Regions from separate parts of the Homo sapiens genome. Here regions 1 and 2 are each linked to region 3. The links are contacts of gene promoters, found by promoter capture Hi-C in human tissues and cell types (Jung and others, 2019). All regions are on one chromosome and are shown on one strand. The core of a region is centred on a gene start or on the middle of the fragment in contact, and the rest is flanking DNA. Distances in the headings are between cores, read along the strand shown.

Evidence for each region. The method cuts DNA at HindIII sites, captures the fragments that hold promoters and counts their contacts. A contact is called where the count stands out against the background at its distance.
Region 1: a contact is called between the fragment with the promoter of RNF141 here and the fragment with the promoter of WEE1 in region 3, in 1 of the 25 tissues and cell types used here (IMR-90 fibroblasts).
Region 2: a fragment that was not itself captured here is called in contact with the fragment with the promoter of WEE1 in region 3 in 1 of the 25 tissues and cell types used here (stomach).

The regions. Positions count from the first base shown.
Region 1 is chr11:10,539,171-10,543,263 of GRCh38, forward strand. RNF141 (ring finger protein 141) reads right to left here and starts at 2,017. Exons shown (of 6, transcript NM_016422.4): 1 at 1,952-2,017. IRAG1-AS1 (IRAG1 antisense RNA 1) reads left to right here and starts at 2,066. Exons shown (of 4, transcript NR_046375.1): 1 at 2,066-2,372. RefSeq lists an enhancer at 2,093-2,202. The HindIII fragment of the contact is 8,088 bases long and covers 1-4,093 here.
Region 2 is chr11:10,284,917-10,288,839 of GRCh38, forward strand. All of the region lies in intron 1 of SBF2 (SET binding factor 2), which reads right to left. Among named protein-coding and RNA genes, the nearest start is that of SBF2, 7.3 kb to the right of the region's middle. The HindIII fragment of the contact is 4,243 bases long and covers 1-3,923 here.
Region 3 is chr11:9,571,252-9,575,009 of GRCh38, forward strand. WEE1 (WEE1 G2 checkpoint kinase) reads left to right here and starts at 2,419. Exons shown (of 11, transcript NM_003390.4): 1 at 2,419-3,258. The coding sequence starts at 2,683. RefSeq lists an enhancer at 1,645-2,497 and silencers at 2,072-2,421, 2,442-2,651, 2,942-3,041. The HindIII fragment of the contact is 20,198 bases long and covers 1-3,758 here.

The DNA.
Region 1 (4,093 bases), core at 767-3,266, 970 kb after region 3:
TGGAAGTTCAAATATTCCTTATAAAAATATTAAAATTACATCATGGGTAACTGGCAAAGCAAAAACGAAAAAACTGCTCAAAAACTCCTAAAAATTTAAACCATAATTCATTCATAAAATAACTAAAGCAAAATGGAAAAGGCTGAAAATGCACCAAAATGACTAAATGACAAGTACTGCACTGTAGTATTTTAAAAACCTCTCTGAAACCAGTTCTCCATCAAATTTTGTATCAACCTCACCTAAAAGGATTTAATTGAAATAAACATCAATGATTTTCACTGTCAAGTCAACTTTAACATCAGTAATAAATACCAAGTACTACTGACTGGGTCCCTAAGGATATTATTTACTTTATTACTCATTGTTTACTCAAACTGTAGATCTGTAAACAGATATCAACTTTTTTTTTTCAAGACAAGTTAATATAGATACATAGTGAAATAATTAGGCCAGAGTCACTATAGAGTCCAGAATGCCTGTTCCAGAATCAAAGATCTTGATCAGAAAAAGATACATACATATATATTAGAGAGAGAAGGAGAGAGAAACTACAAAAGGATAGAGTGCCGTACTAGGAGATTAAGAATATGGATTTCTCACAGTAACAGTGTGTTTACTAAATGCATTTCATATTGGAAAAAGCATATTAGACTTGTAAGAATTCTCTCTGGACCTCCCTTGCCTTTTTGGGAAGGAAAGCGTGTTTGTATTTAGATGGGAACCAAGAAGGATCAGGCTACACACATCGAATATAAAGTTCATTTACACCAAATGACAAATATTAATTTTTGAAACATATAGTCATATTCTTGAGAAAAAGTTCTAGAAACTGAAGTCAGGCAATGTGAAAGAAAAGGATAAAAATCCATACTATTTTTGAGCTCTGAATTCAGAAAGCATCACTTCTCAGACGGGTGACTTCGACATGGAGGTGACTAATTTAGGATCGTCGGCCGGTGGCAGCTCATGCCCCCAGACAAAATTCTGAATGGGTAGAGGTCATTTTATAGCAAGAAGAATGGGCAGAAGGGAGTGAAAACGAATAAATTCGTGCTGAAGATGTAAGAATTATAAACAATTGAAAGTGTTCCAGCAGCTTTATATATATGCCAGAGGCAAGAACTGAATTAGCTGGCACCGCTAAATAGGACAGTGTCAGAATATAAAAGGTACACTACCTTTAATAAGGGGCATAGGGATCGATTTCAATAACAATCGTAAATCCACATTTTGTAACGCCGAGACAAATAACTGAAGGAATAATTTCAAAAGCTAACACAGAAGCCTTCTGCTCCTGCTGTGTAATCACTACCTTCTTATTATTAGCAAGAAAACGTTCTTTTCTTAGCCGGGTCTCAAGGTAGCAGCTAGTTTGACAAGGAAAGACCTTTGGGAAGGGTAGCAGCCTAAGCCAATTCATAAGTGTGGGGCTGGCTAAGTAGATCGACGTGGCTATTTCTGAGCTATCGTCCCAGGCAAAAGGTTTCTTATTTGGGTGTCCAGCCCGGCGGAGACCGAGCCCGCGGGCCACCCTAGCGCTCGCTCTGGCTACGCCGCCTCAGCCCCTCCTCAAGCGCACCTGGACATTTAACCAACAGCTAAGTCCGGCGGCCGAATGACTGAGCCGGCGGCAATATTCAAACAACCGTTTTGGGATAGAGAAGGAAAAACTCTCTCCGGGTCCCTCAGAACCACCCCGAGGCGGGACAAGCCACCGCCACCCCGGGCAACTGGAACCCGCCGGGCAGAAGACGGGCGTCAATAGAATGGCCTCCCCAGCCGTCCCCACGCCCCAATCCGAGGCCCGGGGAGGGCGGCGGGGCTAGGCCTGTCTCCCCGCGGAAGCCTGGCTCGGCAGCGGAGGGCCCTCTGGGGTTTCTCTTCCCAGACCCAGAGTCCTGGAGCAGCTAGCAAGGGAAACACGAAAGGACAGCGCCGCGGAGCTCACCCCAGGTTCAAGGCATCGCGCACCCTGCGGCAGCGGCTGCGCTGCCTCAGCCCACAGCTCAGACCTGCGGGTGGCCGCGACTCAGGCCGGGACCCGGTCGCACCTCTGTGACGCAAAGCCCCGCCCCCCGCGCGTTGCCGGGAGACGGCGCCCAACCTTCCTCTGCAGCGCCCCTACCGACCCGCGCTCCGCAGCTCCTGAGGGCTTTCGAGCCCAGATGGTCATCTGAGACGAGAGGTGGCGGCGAAGGAGAGTCTCGCCTGTCACGCTCCCGGAGCAGGGGCTTCATGAGGTGGCCATGGAAACAGCCTGGCAGACTCCCATCTCTCCTGGTGCCATCTCCGGAGCGGAAAGTGGAGCGCCCCGCTGGCGACCAAGGCCGCACTGAGAGCCCTGGTTTGGTCAACAGTTGGGCTCCAAGGTACCACTTCCCAGACCTCCAGCCTCCCCACTGATGATAGATACACAAAGGTCATCTTGTTTCTTTATGAGGCAATGGATTGTGTTCACCTAGCCGAGTTGTTAAGCATAAGAGAATGTATGAAAAGTAATTACAAGGTTCAAAATCCTGAGCTTTGATAAATGATAGATATGATGATGAGCACATGTTAGTGATATTACTGCTCTGCGGGACGTCTGAATCAGTAATTGCTGTCTTTTAAGCATCTGTTGTGTGCCAAATACTGCACTAGGCACTTTACGGGCATTGCTCTTGTTTAAGTCGTCTGGTCAAAGTTGCCTAGACAATAAACAGCAGAGCAAGGATTTTAACCCAGGTACAGCTGACACTGCTGCCTCTATGCTTAGCAGTTAAACTGGTTTTTATGTTTCTTGTTTGTACACCCCTCCTTCACCAGTCACTTGTAGATTCACCTTGTGAAGAGCTAATTCTTCCCTCTAATAATAATACTCTTTGACCATTTACTATATGTCAAACCGTATTTTAAGGACTTTAAAGGTATTAATTCGTTTAATCTTCACAGCAATCCTGTGAGTAGGTATTATTAATACCTTCACTAAGACACAGGCTTAGAAAAGTCGATTAACTTTTCCAAGGTCAAACAACCATTAAGGAGCAGAGCCAGATTCAAACCCAAGCAGACAGAACCCTGAACCTGTGTTTTTAATTCCTGTTTTAAACTGCCTCGGTAGTACGGTAAGACTTCATTAGCGCTAGGTCCATGCCTGTTTGTGCACCATTATTTCCCTGACAGCCAGCATGGTACTTGTTCAATATTTGAACATTTGATGAATATTTGAACACTGGAAAAGGAAAAAGCTTAAAAATGAAGTATAAATAATGATTTAATAAATTCCAAAAGATATCAAATTCAACAAGATTCCATAGTTCAGCCTAATCCGGGCCTGGGAGTTAGAAATATTACTCTGTAAAAATTGCCTTCAATTAAACATTGTATTGGAAGTTCTGGTCAATGAAATAAAAAAAGACAAATATATAAAAGGCATCCAAGTTGGAAAGGAAGTTGTAGCACTGCATTTATTTGCATAAGAAAATTGTGGAATACTACAAAAAAGCTGCTAGAACTCATAAGTGAGTTTACAAAAGTTGCAAGATACAAAATCAAATATACAAAAATCAGTTGTATTTCTATATACTAGCAATGAACAATTAGAAATGGAAAATTTTTAAATATCTCTTATCAGCAAAAAAAAAAAAAAAAAAAAAAGCAGCAAATTTGGGACAAATTTGACCAAAGATGAGAAAGACATGTATACTGAAAACTATAAAATATTATGGAATAGCAAAGACATGGAATCAACCCAGGTGCTTATCAATAGTGGATTGGATAAAGAAAGTGTGGTACATATACGCCATGGAATACTATACAACCACAAAAAGGACTAGATCATATCTTTTGCAGCAACATGAATACAGCTGGAGGCCATTGTCCTAAGCAAAATAATGCAGAAACAGGAAACCAAATACCGCATGTTCTCACTTATAAGTAGGAGCTAAACGTTGAGTACACAGACACAAAGTTGGGAACAATAAACACTGGGGATTCCAAAAGGGTAGAAAAAACTACTATTGGGTACTATGTTCACCACTTGGGTGACCTGGATCATTAGAAGCCTAAACCTCAGCATTGTTCGATATACCCATGTAACAAAACTACACGT
Region 2 (3,923 bases), core at 802-3,301, 710 kb after region 3:
AAGAGTTTTTTTTTTTTAATCCAATTATAAAATATAAATATTTAAAAATTCAACTGCAAGTATTGTTAATTGAAAAGACACTTTAGGAACAAAAATAAAGAGTGTATCATTTGGCCAGTGAGGTGACTCACGGCTGTAATCCCAGTGCTTTGGGAAGTTCAGGCAAAAGGACTGCTTGAGGCCAGGAGTTCAACACCAGCCTGGGTAACATGGTGAAACCCCATCTCTACAAAAAATAAGAAAATTAGCCAGGCATGGTGGCGTGCACCTGTAGTCCCAGCTACTCGGCAGGCTGAGGTGGGAAGATGAACTGAGCCTGGGAGATCAAGGCTTCAGTAAACTGTGATTGTGCGACTGCCTTCCTGCCTGGTCAACAGAGTGAGACGAAAGGAAAGGAAAAAGAGAAGGGAAGGCAAGAGAAGGAAGAGAGGGGAGAGGGGAGGAAAAAGGGAGGGAGGGACAGACTTTCTAGAATTAGAAAAAAAAAAAATCTCAATAATACTGAGGCAGGAGAATAGGACCTGGTGGCAGGGAACCTAAGGACTTCCTAGAACTAAATCAAACAGAAAAACCCCAACTTTCTACATCCAAGTAAATAATTGTGTAATTTCCCTTCAGCTATGTCAGGAAACATCCTCTTTATTTGCATAGGGTGTACACCAAGTAAATAACTTTGTAACTTCACTTCATCCTCTTCATTTACATAAGGCATACACTGCATAACCAATGGGAATCCTCTAGAGGGTATTTAAACCCCAGAAAATTCTGTAACCAGCACTCTCAAGCTGCTTGCTCAAGCCCATTCCCACCCTGTGGAGTGTACTTTCATTTCAATAAATCTGTAATTTTCTGTCATTGCTTTGTTTGTGCATTTTGTCCAATTCTTTCTTCAAAACACCAAGAACCTGGACACCCTCCACCAATAACAGTAAGAAGTCAAACAACCCAATAAAAAAGAGCACAAATTTGATCAGACACTTTACAAAAAAATACACAAATGGCAACAAGCACCCGAAAAGGTGTTCAGCATTATTAGTCACCAGGAAAACGCAAATTAAAACCACAAATGAGGTATGTTAAGAGAGTAGATCTTTTTTTTGGAGAAAAAAGCCTGTTGCCCAGGCTGGTCTCAAACTCCTGGACTCAAGCAATCCACCCACCTCAGCCTCCCATAGTGATGGGATTACAGGCGTGAGCTACCACGCCCAGCCAAAAGAGATTTTAAATTTCTTCACATAAACACGCACACGCACACACACACACACACACACACACACACGGTAACTATGTGAAGTGATGGATATGTTAATTACCTTGACTGTGGTAATCATTTCACAATGTATACATAAAACATCACGCTGTCCACCATAAATATATATGATTTTTATTTGTAAATTATATCTCAATAAAGCTAGAGGAAGTTTTTGTTCTTTGGTTTTTTTTTTTTTGAGACAGTCTTGCTCTGTCGCCAGGCTGTAGTGCAGTTGTGCGATCTCGGCTCACTGCGATCTCGGCTCACTGCAATCTCTGCCTCCTGAGTTCAAGCCATTCTCCTGCCTCAGCCTCCCACGTAGCTGGGATTACAGGTGCACGCCACCACACTCAGCTAATTTTTGTATTTTTAGGAGAGACGGGGTTTCACCATGTTGGCCAGGATGGTCTCGTTCTCCTGACCTCGTGATCCACCCACCTTGGCCTCCCAAAGTGGTGAGATTATAAGTGTGAGCCACGGCACCCAGCCTGTTTTTGTTTTTTGTTTTTTTGTCTTTTTAGTGAAGGCAAGTTTATTAGAGAAGTTAACAAAAAATGGCTACTCCACAGGCAGAGCAACCAAAAATATTTTTAAGTAATAAATTAAATTTAAAAAGAATAACTGAAACTCTCATACATTGCTAGTGAAAATGTAAAATGGCACAGCCAATTAGAAAAGTTTGTCAGTCTCACACAAATAAGACACTTATGACCTAGCAATTCTTCTCCTACGTATTTACCCAAGAGAAATAAAAACATGAACATGAAAACATTCAAAGATCTGTATGCAAATGTTCAGAACAATTATGTTCACCATAGCCCAAAACTAGAAATTCAAGTGTCCTTCAACTGGTGAATGGATAAATCGTATCATACTAAGCAATAAAAAGGAACAACTGCCAATAAATTCAACATAGATAAATCTCAACTGTATGATCCTAAGTGAAAAAAGTTAGACACAAAAAACTGTATACTATTTATATGACATTCTAGAAAAGACAAAAACATACAGACAGAAAACAGATCAGTGACTGCCAGATGCTAGAAAGGGAACTGACTACAAAGAGGCATGAGAGAACTTTTTGGAAGCATGAAAATGTTCCCTATCTATCTATCTATCTACCTATTTTTAGAAACAGAGTCTCAATCTGTCACTCAGGCTGGAATACAGTAGAGTGATCATGACTCACTGCAGCTTCGAACTCCTAGGTTCAAGCAGTCCTCCCATCTTAGCATCCGAAGTAGCTGGAACTACAGACATGTGTCACCACGCCAGGCTATTTTTTTTTTTCAAAGATGGGGCTCACCATGTGGCACAGGCTGGTCTCAAACTCCTGGTCTAAAGCAATCCTCCAGCCTCAGCCTCCCAAAGCATTGCCATTATAGATATGAGCCACAGCGGCCAGCCCTATATCTATATCTTGATTGCAGTAGTGGCTACACTAATGTATGTATTTGTCAAAACTCACTGAAATGTTCACTTAAAAGAGTAAATTTTATTGCATGTAATTTATACTTTATTAGATATTGTTATGGGATCTTTAGGGTGTCACTTTTCTGGCCAGAAACCTGTGGCTGGTGGCACCTCTGCCTGAGTTTTGCTCAGACCTGCTAGCCTCATTCCCACCCACTCGGCCTTGTAGGCTACACTCAGCTCACGCTACCAGCCTGGATCCCATGCCTCCAAGAAAGACTGGAGTCAGGCGTGGAGTGGTGAGGGGTGTGTAAGCGAGCGTACAGTCTGGCCATTGCCCAGTCAGACATGTCAGCTGCTGCCACAGGGTGGGCAGCTCCAGGTGCTGGCATAAGTGCCAGCTCTCTGCGAGGCTGTGGCTGGACCAGTTGCACCACAAACAGCTTCCCCGGCCGGCACCGGGGAATGTAGTGGCACTCAGAAGCTTGAAGATGCCAGGAACCACAGGGCCCCAAAGAAGGAGTCACAGCCCTAGCTTGGGGAGCTCCCAGGTCTGGGCTCCCAGAAGGGCCACAGCTCTTATCTCCCTTCCTTCACCTGCAACATGGTGAGCAAGGGGCATGTTTCAGCTCTGCTTGTGTTAGAGCTCTTTTACCCTCACCATTCAAGGGTCCCAAGTTCTTGTTCTGTGACCAGGAAGAATGAGGTCCTCAGACAACAAATGGAGGGTGAGCAAGACAAAGAGGAACTTTACTGAGCAATAGAACAGCTCAAAGACCCACAGTGGACAGCTCTTCTCTGTAGCAAGGGTATCCTGATGAGTGTTCAGCTCCTAGCAGAGAGGGTAGCTCCTTTATGCAGGCAGGTCACCCCAGCAAGTATTTTCTCAGCAGTGAGAGTGGCTCCTCTCTGCAGCTGGTCATCCCAACAGGTGTTCAGCTATCAGCAGAGAGGGCAGCTCCTCTCTGCAGCTGGTTGTCCTGCTGTCTGCAGCTCTCAGCAGAGAGGTCCTAGACTAGAATGGGTGGCTCCTCTCTGCAGGCAGATTGTCCCATCATCTCTTCAGCTCTCAGCAGAGAGGAGGCCCTACAGTGGGAAGCTCCTCTCTTTAGGCAGGTTGTCCCATCATCTCTGCATCTATCAGCAGAGAGGGTAACTCCTCTCTGTAACTGGTTGTCCCATCATCTCTCCATCCTCTGCTCTGCTCTGGGCTGAGCCTGCAACTTTTATGGGCCTCAGAGGGGACAAAGTGCACACC
Region 3 (3,758 bases), core at 1,169-3,668:
CACATCATTAGTCCCAGCTATTTGGGAGGGTGAGGTGGGAGGATCTCTTGAGCCTGGGGAGATCGAGGCTACAGAGCCGTGATTGCACCACTGTACTCCACTTTGAGACAGGGTGGACAGAGTGAGACCCTGTCTCGAAAAATAAAAATTTAAAAAAAAGGAGTGGCAGGAGGGGAAGTGTTGGAGCAAGGGTTCTGAAAATCACTCCTTGGCTTTGGCCACTGTGGATCATTGACTAACTCTCCTTATACAAGTCTAGAATTCTTGTCCTCCAAGAGCTTAAAATTAAGTTTGCATGACCATATAAAAAACACATTTATACACCAGTTAGCAAATGTTAGGAGAAAAGACAGCTGTTGATCCTTCACTGTGTCTTCAGTTGTGTGATCTCAGGAAATTCCCGATTTGATGTGTTAAGTACTACCGTGTGTTTCAAGAAAAATTCAGCTTGAGTTTATTTAGCCTTTGAAAAGCATTAGAACAACATATATGACAAAGTGTTAATATGCATAAAGTGCTAACAATAAGAAAAATAGGCAATAGAGATAAATGTAAATTATCATTAAACCCATGACAACTGTTCAACAATATGAATCAAAACAACAAAACCACATCAACGAACATCCACTGATGTCCTGAATTCACAGAGTGTGCTCTAATCCACTGCTAGTGAGAATGTATTGTGTTTCTGGAGGGGGAGTTTGCCAGTTTATATCCTTTGACTGAGGAATTCTAACTCCAGGGAGGTATCCAAAAGAGTATTTTAAAAAGGCCAGGCGCGGTGGCTCACGCCTGTAATCCTAGCACTTTGGGAGGCCGAGGCGGGCAGATCACCTGAGGTCAGGAGTTTGAGACCAGCCTGCCAACATGGTGAAACTCCGTATTTTGCATTTTGTAAAAATACAAAAATTGGCCAGGCCTGGTATGTGCTTGTAATACCAGCTACCCGGGAGACAGGAGAATCGCTGGAACCCGAGAACCCGGGAGGTGGGGGCTGCAGTGAGCCGAGATCGCGCCACTGCACTCCAGCCTGGGGCGACAGAGCGAGACTCCGTGTCGAAAAAAACCAAACCAAACAAAAAACATGGAGAAGGAAGCATATACACCACGGGGTTGTTTACAACAGAAAACTGGAAGAGGCCGGGAGCGGTGGTTCACGTCTGTAATTCCAGCACTTTGAGAGGCCGAGGCGGGCGGATCACTTGAGATCAGGAGTTGGAGACCAGCCTGGCCAACATTGGGAAGTTCGTCTCTACTAAAAATACAAAAATTAGCCAGGTGTGGTGGCAGCCGCCTGTAATCCCAGCTACTCGGGTGGCTGAGGCATGAGAATCGCTTGAACTCTAAAGGCGGAGGTTGCAGGTTGTAGTGAGCCGAGATCGTGCCACTGCACTCCAGCCTGGGTGACAGAGCAAGACCCCGTCTCAGAAAAAAAAAAAAAAATAAATAAACAAAGAAAGAAAAAAGAAAACTGGAAGAAACGTGTAAGTGCATTAAGGGACAGATTAAATCAGTTTAACGAAGCACTAGGGAAATTTTTTAAAATTGCGTTTGAGTTTGCCGCGAGCCGGGCCAATCGGTTTTGCCAACGCATGCCCACGTGCTGGCGAACAAATGTAAACACGGAGATCGTGTGCCGGGCACTTGGTTTCGTGGTGGGCAACTGTGCTGCTGTTTCTTTTGGCCGCGGACAAGGTCGGCAGAGGTGGACCCCTGCTTGGGAGAGCTCTTCTCGCTGTGCTGACACCCGCCCCTAACAGTCACCCACCCCGGGGAAATAATGGGGCTCGGAGGCCTCCTCCCAGCCAGTGTCCAGCCTAAGCACATCGGCTCCCGCAGTTCAGAAAGGTCCCGAGGCCCGAGTCACCATTTCCGGCTCAGACCTCGACCCTGAACGTGGCTGCCCACTGCCACGCCCACTACGCCCCAGTGGCTCGCCCCAGGGGACGAGGGGCAAGAAGCGGCCTCCGAGGGCAGCGGCCGAAGGCCATTCGGTCCCTGGCTCTTCCCAGCTCGCAGAGACCCGGAGGCGCTGCCCGGCCGCCTGCCCCTCTTCAGATCCCCCAGCACCGGAGGAGCAGCGAGGGGGGTGCGTCCAGGCCGGCTTTCGGGTCGGCTTAGGCGAATCCAGCTCTCTTTTGCCCCTCCCAGAAGGCCCAGCCCCGTCCGGGCGGTGTTCGGGCGGCGCCGGGCCGGGCCCCCCGCCGCCCCAGGCTCGCTCATAGGCCCGGAACACCACAGCCCGCCCAGACTTGGCTGGCGCCGAGCCGGGGGTGGAGCCAGCGGGTTCCCGCCAAAATCGCGTAGCTGGTCCTTCCCCCGCGGGCTACGTCGCGCCCTCCTTTTTTTTTCAAACCCGGAGCTGCACTGGGATTGGTGGACTGGGCACTCACGTGGTTAACGGTCGCGGGAAGCCGCGGAGCCCGAACCTGAGACTGGACCTGAGGAGACCTCAGCCTCGGTGCTCGGGCCGCCCCGCCTCTGCCGGAAAGTCCGCGCCGCCGCTGCCGCCACCGTCCGCAGCCCGAGCGCCCCGGAGCCGCAGGCCGCCGCCGCGCAGAGACGCCGCGGCTGCGACTAGGCGCGCCCAGCCGCACGTGGCGGACCCGCCCCCAGGCCCGCAGTGTCCTGGACCCCGCAGGCCTCCGCTCTCCTGTCCTCGGCCCCGTCCCCAGGGCCGCGATGAGCTTCCTGAGCCGACAGCAGCCGCCGCCACCCCGCCGCGCCGGGGCGGCCTGCACCTTGCGGCAGAAGCTGATCTTCTCGCCCTGCAGCGACTGTGAGGAGGAGGAAGAAGAGGAGGAGGAGGAGGGCAGCGGCCACAGCACCGGGGAGGACTCGGCCTTTCAAGAGCCCGACTCGCCGCTGCCGCCCGCGCGGAGCCCCACGGAGCCCGGGCCCGAGCGCCGCCGCTCGCCCGGGCCGGCCCCCGGCAGCCCCGGCGAGCTGGAGGAGGACCTGTTGCTGCCCGGCGCCTGCCCGGGCGCGGACGAGGCGGGCGGTGGGGCGGAGGGCGACTCGTGGGAGGAGGAGGGCTTCGGCTCCTCGTCGCCGGTCAAGTCGCCGGCGGCCCCCTACTTCCTGGGTAGCTCTTTCTCGCCGGTGCGCTGCGGCGGCCCAGGAGATGCGTCGCCGCGGGGTTGCGGGGCGCGCCGGGCGGGCGAAGGCCGCCGCTCGCCGCGGCCGGACCACCCGGGCACCCCGCCACACAAGACCTTCCGCAAGCTGCGACTCTTCGACACCCCGCACACGCCCAAGGTGAGAGCGGCGGGCGCGGGCACCCGGCGGCCGGGGCCGCGGCGCCGGAGGGGCCAGCGCCGCTGCCTGGGTTCGGTTACAGAAGCGGCCGGCCGCTCCCCCCTCGCTTTCCTGCGCCGCCCCCCAAAGTTGGCAGCCCTTGTGTTTGGCCCTGCCCCGAGGTTGTCCGTTGAGATTATGTAACTGAACAATGGGCCTCGTCTGGAACTTCATCTTACAAAGGGGCCGATCGGCCCGTCCGGGTGGCCAAGGATTTGCCGCCCGTTGAGTCCGGGCCGCCCCGAGCGTGTCAGCCCCGAGTGCGGCACCGATAACGCGGTTCGCGAGGATGCTGGAGGGTGCCGGCCCGGCCACCTGACACTCCCGAGCCATAGGATGCCTTTTAAACGCGGCGATCGGGCCTGTAATTTGGGCGGCGCGGGCAGAAGGAGTTTAAAGAAAAATAATTGTCCCGCCCTGATCGTGTCGTGTCGTGTGGCGTGGATGGGGGAAAGGTCTGG